2 separate regions of the Homo sapiens genome follow, and region 2 is linked to region 1. The links are contacts of gene promoters, found by promoter capture Hi-C in blood cells and fetal thymus (Javierre and others, 2016). All regions are on one chromosome and are shown on one strand. Each heading gives the region's core, a stretch centred on a gene start or on the middle of the fragment in contact. The rest is flanking DNA. Distances are from core to core; before and after follow the strand shown. Region 1 holds the start of RAPGEF2 (Rap guanine nucleotide exchange factor 2). Region 2 overlaps TMEM144 (transmembrane protein 144).

The links. Contacts are between HindIII fragments. The CHiCAGO score rates a contact against its expected background, and 5 or more counts as called.
Region 2: a contact is called between a fragment that was not itself captured here and the fragment with the promoter of RAPGEF2 in region 1, in 1 of 17 cell types (megakaryocytes). The highest score is 6.0, in megakaryocytes.

The regions. Positions count from the first base shown.
Region 1 is chr4:159,100,591-159,106,990 of GRCh38, reverse strand. RAPGEF2 (Rap guanine nucleotide exchange factor 2) reads right to left here and starts at 3,912. Exons shown (of 30, transcript NM_001394067.2): 1 at 2,760-3,912. The coding sequence starts at 2,828. RefSeq lists silencers at 2,773-3,192, 3,160-3,454, 3,203-3,492, 3,533-3,752, 3,883-4,422 and an enhancer at 4,071-4,762. The HindIII fragment of the contact is 5,553 bases long and covers 837-6,389 here.
Region 2 is chr4:158,245,214-158,251,613 of GRCh38, reverse strand. The region is part of intron 12 of TMEM144 (transmembrane protein 144); the gene reads right to left. Among named protein-coding and RNA genes, the nearest start is that of TMEM144, 38 kb to the right of the region's middle. RefSeq lists an enhancer at 6,248-6,400. The HindIII fragment of the contact is 4,780 bases long and covers 1-4,400 here.

The DNA of each region.
Region 1 (6,400 bases), core at 2,663-5,162:
TAATTTTTTTGGTATTTCTCCTTACTATTCCCCCTCTCTAAAGATATAACTGAAATGCGTTTCCATTGTGCAGGTGGACATGAAAAGCTCCCAATTTATGAAAGTTCCTGGTACTCTTCCCACCCCTAGATTCTCTTCTAGCCAACTTCTTAGGTTACACCAATGACATCAGGATTACTTCTAGGCAATTGATTGACCTAAATACAAAACTATGTTTTCACGGAGCTTGGGAAATGAATGAGGCCAGCAAGCCTTTAAAAAACAAACAGAAATGAACAGCAGGAAAAAAAATTACATATGTTCCCCAATTCTTTTCCTTTTGCCTATAACGAGAATCATGCAAACTCCTTTATCGAGTCTATCCTCAGAAACAGAAGGAAGCAAAACAGCAAAACTTTCCTAATTCCTGTCCTTCTGTTCATGATATCAAGCTTATTTAACATGGTTGCTTTTCTAATATTATAAAATTCGAACTCACAAACATTTATAAGACAAGGCTGTATGGAAAATCTTCCAGCGTTCCATTAACAAAGCATTCTTAACATAAAAAGTACCTTCTACAAAAACTTTTTTTTTTATAATTTTTGAGTAAATTTCAAATTTTTATAAGATTACTCCTGGCCAGTCAGGTAAAGATGGAAAACGTTCACATTTCGAACAACTTTCTCTTGAAAAGAAATAAACGTGGGGATTTGTAGTAATAACCAAACGAACATCAAAGTTAATAGGGCTGACACTTAGGAATGTTTGAAATGTTTGGTAGGTTTCCTTATGTTTACTTTTTCTATGAAGGTTTGGTAGGGCAAATGGGCTGCCTTCCGACTGTCAATAAAGCTTTCATGTCGTGGGTTAGTAGTAGCTGGCCCAGGCCAAGTTCTGTGTTGGGTCAGTTTTTACTCTATTCTACACAACTGGCAGGGGAACAGGAAAGTTTAACAGTTCATTTATTTGGCACAGTGGGCCCACAGTCACAGTGGAGGTTTTGTCTCTTCTAGTCTTGTTTGGTGACCCGCCCCCCAACCTGATAGTAGGTTTTAGTCATTGTTATTCTTCTAACTAATCAACCAAATGCACCACTTCCCCCTTCTCTAATTTCCACCAAAGGCCTCTGACATCATTTTCTGACCAGCCTTGCTAGGTTCTAATATTCTCAGCATGCGTAATTTCACTTGGCACTTAAAACAATATTCTTGAAAGGAAATGAAATATCTCACTGAAATCTGCTTTTCCTTCACACTGAGACAGGGAATGTGCATTTTCAGATGCAGAAGACTGATCCAACTGACCATTTTAAAACAAATAGATGAGAAAGGCATAGGAAAGGCAGCGTGTGCAACACCAAGAGAAGAACAAGATCAATGCAGGACATTCCTTGTTGGGATAAAAATAGTCTTTTAGAATGGGAACTTTCTGGAGACAGATAAATTTTCTTGTAAAATTACAGCCATCTTCCACACGTTTGATAAATATGTGCAATCTATCCATGATCTCCCAGATGTGACAGCTCCATCAAGGAAAATGAAAAATCAAAAACGGTACCAGGTGCCACTCTTGGGGCTTGTCCAAAGGCAGCCAGGGGAAGAGTCTATTTTATTATGCTCTCCCCACAGTAAATAATAATCAACATCAGAGAAGGAGAGCATTTGGATTTGAACAGATGGCATCCAACATCTAACAAGCGAAGCAACACTTTCAAGCATTAGATCCTAAATGTCTGATGGTCCCAAGGATCAGGAGGGCTTATTTGTCTTAAGAGGGTTGGCAGGCAGGATCTCCTATAGTCACCATCCCAACGCTTAGGAATATGCGTCATTATCCAGTCAGCAACTAAAGGCGGAGAAAATTAAGCTACCACATTTTTATAAAATTTCCCCCTCTCCAGTAAAACTTGAGACAACCAAATCCAACCCTATCAGCCGCTATAAGTAAGAGAAGAGTAAGCCTGCAGGTAAACAAATGTATAAAGGTTAACAAACTTATCTAATTTTGACAAGGTTGTGCAACACCAAAAGAATCCGCAGGGTGCCCTTCCCGAGGGTGTACTGGAACATGCCTGCTCTGCAGCTATGTCTGCAATTTAAACTAAAAGCACTAACTTAGCTATTCAACTTTTTTTCCCTTCAATTGAAAGCAGTATCCTTTAAAAAATAAAAGCAAAACAGTAAACATACAAACACCTCAATGTTTTACTGAAGGTCAGCATGGATTTGTCTTTAGCACAACCGTACAGGTTTCCTCCTATACCTTTCAAACACCACTGAACTCCAAGGGTCACTTGCAAGGGGAGGAACGGATCTGGAGTCAGAGGGAGCAAGAGTCGCTGCCCGAGGGGAGATGAGACTCCATCCCCTGAGATTCAGAGGCCACGGAGGGCGGCTGGGGAGAGGGAAAGCTAGAGAATTCACACATTCACACACATACACACACACACACACACTCTCTCTCTCTCTCTCTCTGTCTCTCCCTCTCTCTCTCTCTCTCTCTCTCTCTCTCTCTCTCTCGGCTGGGCAACATAGTGGGAAAGGTCAGTCATGGGGAGGGAAGAGTTAAGGAGCAGAATGTCAAGGAGAGGGAAAAATAAAACCAGGATAGGCGGAGTAAAAGACTCGGAGGTGGGATGCCTTTGGAAGTTGGGGGTCCTGATGCAAGAAGTGGGGTGCTCGGGGCGAACTGTGTCAGGAAGGAGGTGGGGGGACAGGGGAAGACGCAGCCTGCGAGGCAGAAATCCGGCCAAGGGCAGGCGGCCGCCGCGTTCTCACCTGGGGGGTCCTTTCGGGGGGATTCTTCATCACCGCCTGGCGGAAGCTGTTATCTACGTAGGACGCCATCTCCCCTCTGGGAGCGGGCCGGGGCCGCTCCGCACCCTGGCCGGCCTCCTCCCGGCCCAGCGCCGCTGCTGCCTCCGCCCTGCGCGCTGCGCCCGCCCGCCCGCCCGCGACTAATCAGCCAAACCGCGGCGGCGGCGGCGCGGGGCCCGCGGGGGGGCGGCTCGGCTGGGCCCGGCGGCCGAGAGCGCGGTACAGGCGCGAGGGGCTGGACGCAGCCGGGAGGGTCGCGGCGCCCCTAGGCTGCCGTGCGATGCGGCCCGCAGGCGGAACTCCCCTTCCTCCTCCTCCTCCTCTTCCTCGCCGCTCCGCCGGCTTCCTCCGGCCCTGGCTCGACACGCCTCCCCGGCTCCACTCGGGGGACAGTGGCGGCTCCTCCTGGCCCCAGCGGGCCCGAGTTATTTTTAGGGAGGTACGAGTGGCAGTGGGGAGGGCTGTGGGCAGGCGGAGCCTCCTCCCCCACGGCGCTGAGGGTCGCCCCCTCCTCTCAGGGGCTTGCGCAGCCGCCGCCCAGGGGTCTCCGAGAATCACTTGGATCTTCCGCGTCCCCAGTCCTCGGGCGCCTCGGCCGCCGGTCGGGAGGACGGACCAGGTGGGTCTGGCTCAGGTCCGGGCGCTGCGAAGCCCGATCGCCTCGGCCGCCGCTCCTGGTCTCTGTCTACTGGGCTCGGCCGTCCCTCCCGACTGCTGCTGCATCCCCTCGGGCCGCCCAGCCGCCGCCGCCGCCGCCTCTGCTGCTCGGGCCGCCGCTGTGGGCTCCGCCGCCGCCGCCTCCCCCCATCAGCGCGCCCGGAGCGGAGCTGCCCCGGCGCCGGCGCCGCCGCGGCCAGAGCACCCGGCCCGGGCTGCAGCCCTCCGGCCCAGTCGCTCTCGGCAACTTTGTTCCTCGTCTGCGCGGGGCGGAGGAGGGGGAAGAGGGGGCCGCGGACAGCCCGGGTTCGGACTCCCGGCGCGGGCGTCCGAGGGCCGAAAGCCGAGAGCCGCGCACAGCCCCCTCGGAGAGAGTGTTTGGGAAGCGGCGATTCCCCTCCTCTTCCTCCGCCTCTTCCTCCTCCTGCGCCTTCTCCGGCCGCCGGAGCCGCTCCTCAGGGAGGAAGCGGCCTCTGGGGCTTGTTGCTTTGTGCTGCAACCATGGTGAGGAATGAGTGACAGCGTGGGGGCGAGTCGGCGGCCGCCGCATCATCGGGGGGCGGGGCAGCCCCGTCGCGCCGGGTCCCGCCTCCCCGCTCCCCGCCCGCCAGCGGCCGCGCCCTCGCGTCTGAGCGGCACCTTCGGCGGCGCCCAGGTGAGCAGCGCTCTGGCCGCAAGTGGGTCGCGGAGCCCTCGGCCGGGCTGTCGGGTCCCGCGCGCGGCCTGGACCCGAAGAGGGGGCGCAAGTCCTGGTGCCCCGGAGAGAAGCGCAGGGCTTTCCTCACGCAGTGTCCCCCACTGTCTCACGCCGCGCCCCCTCCCCACACCCGACGCGCCCTACTAGGAGACCCAGCCGCGTCGGGTCGCTGCTCCCCGCCCGCTCCTGGCGCCACGCCGCCGCCCAGGGGCTGAAAGCTAACCTTGGGCAAAAGACCGGCCCACCAGCCCGGGCTGTACTGGGCATTCTTTTTGAGCCCAAGAGTTGCGTCCGAGTTGCTTCTGTGGCGATAAATCCTCTTAGGATTTATTTTGCTTATTTGTAATTTGCTGCACCCTCCCCTGCTTTCCAAGCCCACTCTGGCACCTCAGACAGTAAAATGACCACGAAATTAGGCAGAGAGGTTTCAACACCAGACCCACTACCACCCCTAGACCAACAAACACTCCAGATTTAAAGTTGATCACTCCTTAGCGACAGACCAGGATGGCAAGTTCTGTGACATAATCAGAAACATTTATTGGTAGGTCTGGCTTTGCCTTGGACAGAACAAGCCTCCTCCTCTAGATGCTCAAATTTCCAAACCGGACCCACATGGTGCAGAAACAATACCTCGTCCTTCAAGATGTCACCGCTCCTGCTGATTCCCTCAGCTCCCCCCCACTCCTTGCCCCGGCCACGTAGAGGTGTGTTAAGGTCAGCCCAAGCATCGGGGACCACTCTGCTGTTCTGGTCCCAGGGATTTATTTTTGTTTGCCCCCACCCCCCACAAGTTCTTATTTTGATATCTATAGACACAATGAGTTTTATGTATGAGCTACTGCGTTGAACTTTTCAAACATGATTTTCAACATCTAGTTTAAACACTTGGAATAGATTGTCAGCTAACATTTTGGGGTTCCTTAAGTCACCTGTGTGCACTAAACAGCTTGTGTGACTTCCTAGCAAAGGGACTGTCCCTGCCCAACCTTGTGAAAGGGAATCTGAGTTACAAATTGTATCTGTAGACCTTTTTATATTACTCTTGCTGGAACTGCTTCTCTATATTTCTCTTTCACCTCTTAGTTGAGCGCCAACATCAAATTCTCTATGACATAGGCCACTACCTTGAAAGCAAAGGAACATGAATAAGTGCCAATACAGCTCTGAAAAAAGGAGAGAGGCAGATAAAAGAATTCAAACCCAATGAAGTGAAAAAATATAACTGACATCTCCACCTGGTGTCTAATAGACATCTCAGAATTCACATGTGCAAACCAGGCTCCAGATCTCCTGTCTCAGACACCCACAGCCTTCCCCATCCTCTGTTAATCACATCTACACCATTCTCACTTCCTGGGTGAAAACGTTGACTTCCTTGACTCCTTTCTTTCTGTTATACCTCAAAAGTGTCAGTAAAAATCGTCAGCTCAACCTCCAGAATGCCATATCTGAACTCTAACCTTTATCTACCACTTCTACTGCCATGACCCTGGTGCAATCCAGCATCATGTCTGGCCAGCACTTTGTCATAACCACCCACCTGGTCCCCCTCTTTCTAACCTTGCTTGCCATACAGTTCATTTCCAACACAGCAGCCAAAGTGTGAATTCTTTTCACTCCTTCTCAAATCATTCCTCTGCTTAGCTCCTCATACCACTCAAGGTAAAAGCCAAAGTCTTACCATGGCCTGAATATCCTATGGACCTTTATCTCTCTGACCTCTTCTACTATTCTGTTCCCAAGCACATTAGCCTCCATGTTGTTTCTGAAACAGCAAATTCCAGTCTCATGACCTTTCCATCTGCTGTTCCCTCTACTGCCTGGATTATCTCTCCCCCTCTCCCCACCCCACTTGCACCCACAAAAACAAAAAACAAAAAGAAAAATGCACACACACAACAACCAAAATATAGAATGTTGTTCCTCATTGTCATCATATCTTCATTTGAATGTCACCTTCCCTGTAACTCCATACACTCTGGTTATCTTCGTCGCTTTACTTACCACCTAACATACTGTATATTGTACAGGTGCTTGCCCACTTAGGATGGGGTTACATCCTGAGAAACCATTGTAAGTCGCAAATATTGTAAGTCAGAAATGCATTTAATACCCTGATAAACCCATTATAAAGTGGAAAAATCGAAAGTCAATTTATTGACCATCGTAAATTGAGAACCATCTATACTTATTTATTTTATTTATTGTTTTATCCCTCCACTGTAATGTAAGCTTCTAAGTCAGG
Region 2 (6,400 bases), core at 761-3,260, 850 kb after region 1:
AGGGCAAATCCAGCACCATGTTGGGTTCAATTGGTCTTAGCCAGCTTGATCCACATGCTGTTTTTCAGGGTCTTATCAGCCCATGGCCTCTGCAGCTATTTCAAGTTTCCTTTTGCTAGTCATGTGAAACTGCTGCCTGGGATTTTCCTAATCTGTGACCACCCTGTATTATTCCTGTCTCATCCCCCCCACTTAAAGATTTCTATCCCTTATCCTTAAGGCTTGATGTGGGAGGAAGTCAGTCTTCTGTATCTACTTCCTGCTGATTAAGGGCATTGGCTCTGCCAATGAGGGCATGGCAATCTCTGGCTGCCTGGTCTAAGGGTCCCAAGGGTGGGTCATCAGGAGAGTCTGAATCCAAGGCGGAAGACTCCAGTATTCTAAGGGAAGGTTTGAACATTACAAAGTAAAACAAGACTAGCACCTCTCTAATTTTAGATACATCTAAGATTACAATCAGATAATAACACTATTTAATAATACTATTAGATCCTTCTTAAAAGGAAAAATAACAATGGTTCATGGGTAAGTCATTGTAGAAGACACATAAGGGTTCTGGAAAAAGAAAAAAGGAATGGAGAGGAAGCAACTCTAGGCAGCAGTTGGTATCCTGCCAGCTTCAAATCTGTAGGGAATAGGGCTGGTGTCCTCCCTCTCTGGTGAAAATTCTGGCCACTGAGGTCCAACAGGTTAATAGCCTCACACTACCCAAATTTGGGCAAAACTTCAGGAAAGGTAGTGGGAATAGAATGCTGTGTTTTTGGTGCAAGAGTTGACTGACTTGTTGGGGGGAGTGGGTTCATAAAAGCAGGACCCTGGGCTGTTAGAGGCTAATCCTCAGGGCTAATCTGATTCATGAGTATCTCCCCTAATGCTCACTCAAGGACTCAGTGAAGAACATGCACCAAACTTGGGTTCCTACAGCCAGGCCATGCAAAGTGTAGGCTTAGGGAGACTCATTTCCCCCAGCATAGATGCAAGGGGTCAGAGGGTAGAGGGTGGTTCTGTCTTTGCTGCCTTGCAGCCAGGTCAGCTTTGAGGGAAACCCAGAAAGGGAAGTTCTAACTGGGCTCCCACAGGAAACAGGGTTGGGGCAGGATAGACGGGTTGACAGTAGGAACACGTGGCTCTCCTGGCTCCACAGTGAAATTCTCACTTCAAAGAGTGGACTTTTGTCTGGTTTCATTTTGCCTACTTCCCTCACACTTCCTTAAAGGTCTTGTGTTTCTAGTTTACTGGAAGAATGCAGAGATCAGAGGTAAATTTGTGTAATAAATCTGAACAGAACAGAAACAAAGTCCAGGATGGAGGGAATGTGAAAACTGCCAAGGAAAGGTCTTTTGTATTATTAGTTCGTAAGATTAATGCTAACTAATATGTAACTATATATATATATATATATATATATATATATATATGTTATGTATTAATTAACAAAATCAAATAATTATGTTACTAACTAAATTATATATATATGTTCCCTTTCTTCAACTTAAAGAATCAGAGTAGATAAATTTGCCTCTGTTTGATGACCAGAGATAGGTCTTTGCAAGTTAGGTTGGGGCCAGTTGAATTGTCTGATTCAGTGTGATCCTTAGCACTAACAGAAGCCACTTTAATCCCAAATTCTACAAATAGAAGCACCCGAAAACCTTGCCAAGTGCAGAACAGCTTATTTAAACACACACACACACACACACACACACACACACACACACACACACACCTGGCAGTAGGCTTTGGATTTCCCAGCACCTTTTTTTTTCTTAATTTTTAAGACTGCAATTCTCACCTAGATACTGGTACTAATGCAGAATAGGTATTCCATAAACATTTGTTCAAACAACAAATACACTAAGGTGATTTCCACGTATATTTTGTGAATTTGAAATTGATGCAATTACTTAAATTAAAAAATGGGTCTTCAGTTACAAGCACTCTACAATCTAATTACGTGAATACATTGCTAAGCGCTATTTTATTACCTATGTAGACAGAAGAATAATGTTCTCAGGGAATGAAAAATTTTTTTCCCCTTCAATGTTAAGATTTTGCTAAAACTGTCCAGTCTCCTAGAGAAAAAGACTAATTATAGTTGGGCAACAGCAATGGTTTTCCTTCATCAAAGGTGGATGTTAACTCTTGGAAAGAGCACACTAACATTCTTCCCAAAGCAGAAAGTTTTTTAACTTGGATTTCTACTAAGATAATAGATCATCTCATTCTTCACCAGGGAGTAGCTTACTGACCTATACATTGTTGTGGTAGTAACTGCCTGTGTTGGCATTACTGTAGACATACTGACTAAAGTGTGTTGGTAAAAATATAATTTATATCTAGCTTAAAGATTTAATAATCTAAAATGAATTTCCCAATGAGTAACAGATATCAGATATAAAAGAATATCAGGGCCGGGCACGGTGGCTCACGCCTGTAATCCCAGCACTTTGGGAGGCCGAGGCGGGCAGATCACAAGATCAGGAGTTCGAGACAAGCCTGGCCAACACTGTGAAACCCCGTCTCTACTAAAAATACAAAAATTAGCTGGGCGTGGTGGCGGGCTTCTGTAATCCCAGCTACTCGGGAGGCTGAGGCAGGAGAATCGCTTGAACCCAGGAGGTGGAGTTTGCAGTGAGCCGAGATCGCATCACTCCACTCCACCGTGGGCAACAGAGCGAGACTCCATCTCAAAAAACAAACAAACAAAAAAGAGTATCAGAAGTATGAAAACATCCAACTGATGCACTGATGGCATTAAAACTAAATGGAATCATTAAAGTCCTTCACACAAAAGGTGCTTGGCTCTCAGCTTTATTCCTCGCAGCTGTAGGTTGTAGACTTTTAAATATGCGTCTTCAAGGACTGCTTTAAGATATATAACTGACAGTACCTATGAGTCCTGCAGATAACAGGTTTGCTTTTGTTTTCTTCTTTAGAGTTTAGGGGTTTTTGTCCTGTTTCTACAAAAATACTTTAAAAATTATTCTTATGATATTTAGGCTTTAGTGTTCAGTTGATGATGCTTTTCTAAACTGATTGGCATGTAAGTATTTAAAATTTTTCTTTAAATCAGCTGTCAAGAGGCAATTAGGTGTCTGCATTGAATAAGTACCATTGGACATCTGTTAAATTTTGCTTGTAGATGACATATAAGATTTTTTGTTTATTTATTTATGTGGTTAGTTATTTTGAGACAGAGTCTAGCTCTGTCACCCAGGCCAGAGTGCAATCTTGGCTCACTGCAATCTCCACTTTCCAGGTTCAAGCCATCTTCCCATCTCAGCCTCCCAAACAGCTGGGACTAGAGGCATGCACCACCACAGCAGGTTAATTTTTGTATTTTTGTAGAGACAGGGTTTTGCCATGTCACCCTGGCTGGTCTTGAACTCCTGAGCTCAAGTGATCTGGCCACCTTGGCTTGCCAAAGTGCTGGGACTACAGGCATAAGCCACCATGCCTGGCCCCAGGTTTTTTTTTTTTTTTTTTTTTTAATTCTTTGCTTTCAGCTTGGCCCTCTCTCTTCTTTTAATACTTGTAATCTTATCTTAGTCATTTTTTTAAAACAGAAAAGAGCAAACAGTCATTTTCTTAAGTTTAGAAATCCTTATTTTATAAGAAAACTGGCCTAGCTAATCTAAATTGCACATTTCAGAAATATGGTATATGTGCTGTCATGCTTTTTTTTTTTTTTGCCTATTTTTACATAAATAATTAGCCAAACTTTAGGACCTACTCTAAAAATTCTAGAAAGAGCTTCACTGGGATTTTACAGGAATTATACTGAACGTAATTAGAGAGAACTACCTAATTATAACAGCGAGATGTTCCATCAGAAATGTGACAAGTCTCCTATATTTGTTCTGATCTTCTATGTCCTCTAGTACATGTTTGTAGCAAAGTAAAATACAGTATTTTAAAAACCTGGCACATTACTTGTTAATTCTTTAATTAGATTTTATGTAATTTTTGTGGTTATTATTAATAGCATTTATTTTCCTCGTTTTAACTGGTTGTTGGTGATACATTGGAAGGCAACTGATTTCATATTTATTTTATATCTCAAGCCTTACTAAATGATCTTATTGGATGTTAAATTTTTCAGCTGATTCTTTTAAATTTTTATTTTAATTTTTAATTTTTGTCACCAATAAATTGAAATCACAATGTGTACATTTTTTAAAAATGTAATCTGCAAATTATAATTTTCTTATTTCTTTTCCTATATTTATTCATTTCATTTCTTATTCTGGTGTTTCCAAACTAGCTAGATCTATAGGAAATATCGTATAATAGTATGGAGAAATCCTTGACTTCCAATATATGGAGAACTCTTATGTTTCATGAAACTCAGGTATATAATTGCTATTTTGTTTTGATAGACATACTGTACCACTAAAGCTTCCTTTTATTTCTAGCTTATTAAGAGGTTAGTATAGTATTATCACGTCCTTTTCATATTTGATATGGTAGAGTAAATGATATTAATTAATTTATGTATTATGAACGATCCTTGCATTCCTGAATTAAACCCTATTGGGTCATAGTATATTAATCTTAAAAGTTACTTTTCTATTCAGTCTGATGTGTCTTTTTAAAGATGTCTTTACCAAAAACAAAACAAAACATTCCTCACTGTTTTTCAATTAATACTAGGCTTTTTGGTTAGGGATTCTCTTTGAATAGGGTTCTTATATGTAGTTAAGAGGATTTTCAATTCAGTATTATTATTGTAGTCATGACCAAAATAATTTTCAAATGCTTTAATATAAATCTATACTTGGTTTGTACTTCTTCATACCTATAATTACTAATAAACTATGATGACTAATTTGTAATTTTCTAAGGCTTCAGCATCTTACATGAGATAATAACCAATTCTTTAATATAAATAAATCTTTTTTTGTGAGGTAGATGAAATATATGCAGAGAGATTTACAACATATTTTGGGCATAGAGTTACTTTTTGTAGAAAGGAACTCTGACTACAATAAATGAGAAATGTTCACGAAAGTAACTTAGAGGTTTATAAATGTTTCAAGTTGTTCTTGTGTATTTAAAAAAAATAAAAATTCTGATCATAGTCCACATATTTTTGAAACAAGTTTATTATTTTTTAAATCTGAGAATGTTACTTGTATTATCAAATAATGGATTTTAAATCAAAATATTTCATTTACAATGATTGAAATGATGTTTTAAATCTAAAATTGAATAATCATTTTAAAGATCAGGTAGAAGTACATTCACTTTATGGTTGTTAGAGATTAGCAACATCAATCTCCTTAGAACCAGGAATTATTTGCTACTACAACTGCATATTAAGACAGGTCTATGATGACTTGATTGGGGAGGGGTCTTTGGATCAACATTGTCTTTAATAAAAATTCTTATAAAAGAGTATTTGCATATATTCCTCAACTGAAGACTTTTTCTACAAGTAAAGGTAACTGGGAAAAGTTCCAAAGCAATTTTTTAAAAAAAGATTAAACATTTTAAAATCTTTAAATTGTTAGGGAGACAGGGTCTTACTATGTTGCCCAGGCTAGACTTGAACTCCTAGGCTCAAGTGATCCTCCTGCATAGTTGGACTACAGGTAGATGCCACCATGCCTGGCTAGAAGGGGAGAAGTTCTCTGATTTTGTGAGTTTTCTTATTCTTTCTTTTTTTTTCTTTTTCTTTTTTGAGGAGACAGGGTTTCACTCAGCTGTCCAGATTGGAGTGTAGTGGTATGATCATGGCTTGCTGCAGCCTTGACCTCCTGAACCCAAGGAATCCTCCCTCCTTAGCCTTCTGAGTGGCTGTGACTACAAGTGTTCCTCACCACACCTGGCTAATTTTTAAATTGTTTTTGTAGAGATAGCGGTTTTGCTATGTTGCCTAGGCTGGTCTCAAACTCCTGGGCTCAAGCAATCCTCCCGCAAGTGCTGGGATTACAGGTGTGAGCCACTGCTCCTAACTTGTTTTATTTTGCTATCGACAGTTTGGGCTAGGTTATATGACCCTCACCCCCAAAATTAACTGAGCATTTATTGTGTTCTTGGTAGTGTTTTTAGCACTTTACTCATATTCTCTCAGCTCTCTTGGTTGGTTATCCCCATTTTCAGATAAGGACTATACACACAGAGAGGTTAAGAAACTTGGCCAAGGTCACACAGCTAGTATGTGACAGAGCCAGGATTTGAACCCAGTTGGACTCTTGAGACTGTACCTTTTGTTGTCGTTGTGATTGCCCAGGCTGACATCAAACTCCTGGGCTCAAGTGATGCTGCTGCCTCAGCCTCCTGAGTAGCTGGGAATATAGATGCATGCCACCATGCTCGGCAAAGTGATTTTTAAAGAAAACATACATACACACACACACACACACACACACACACACACACACACACACACACACAC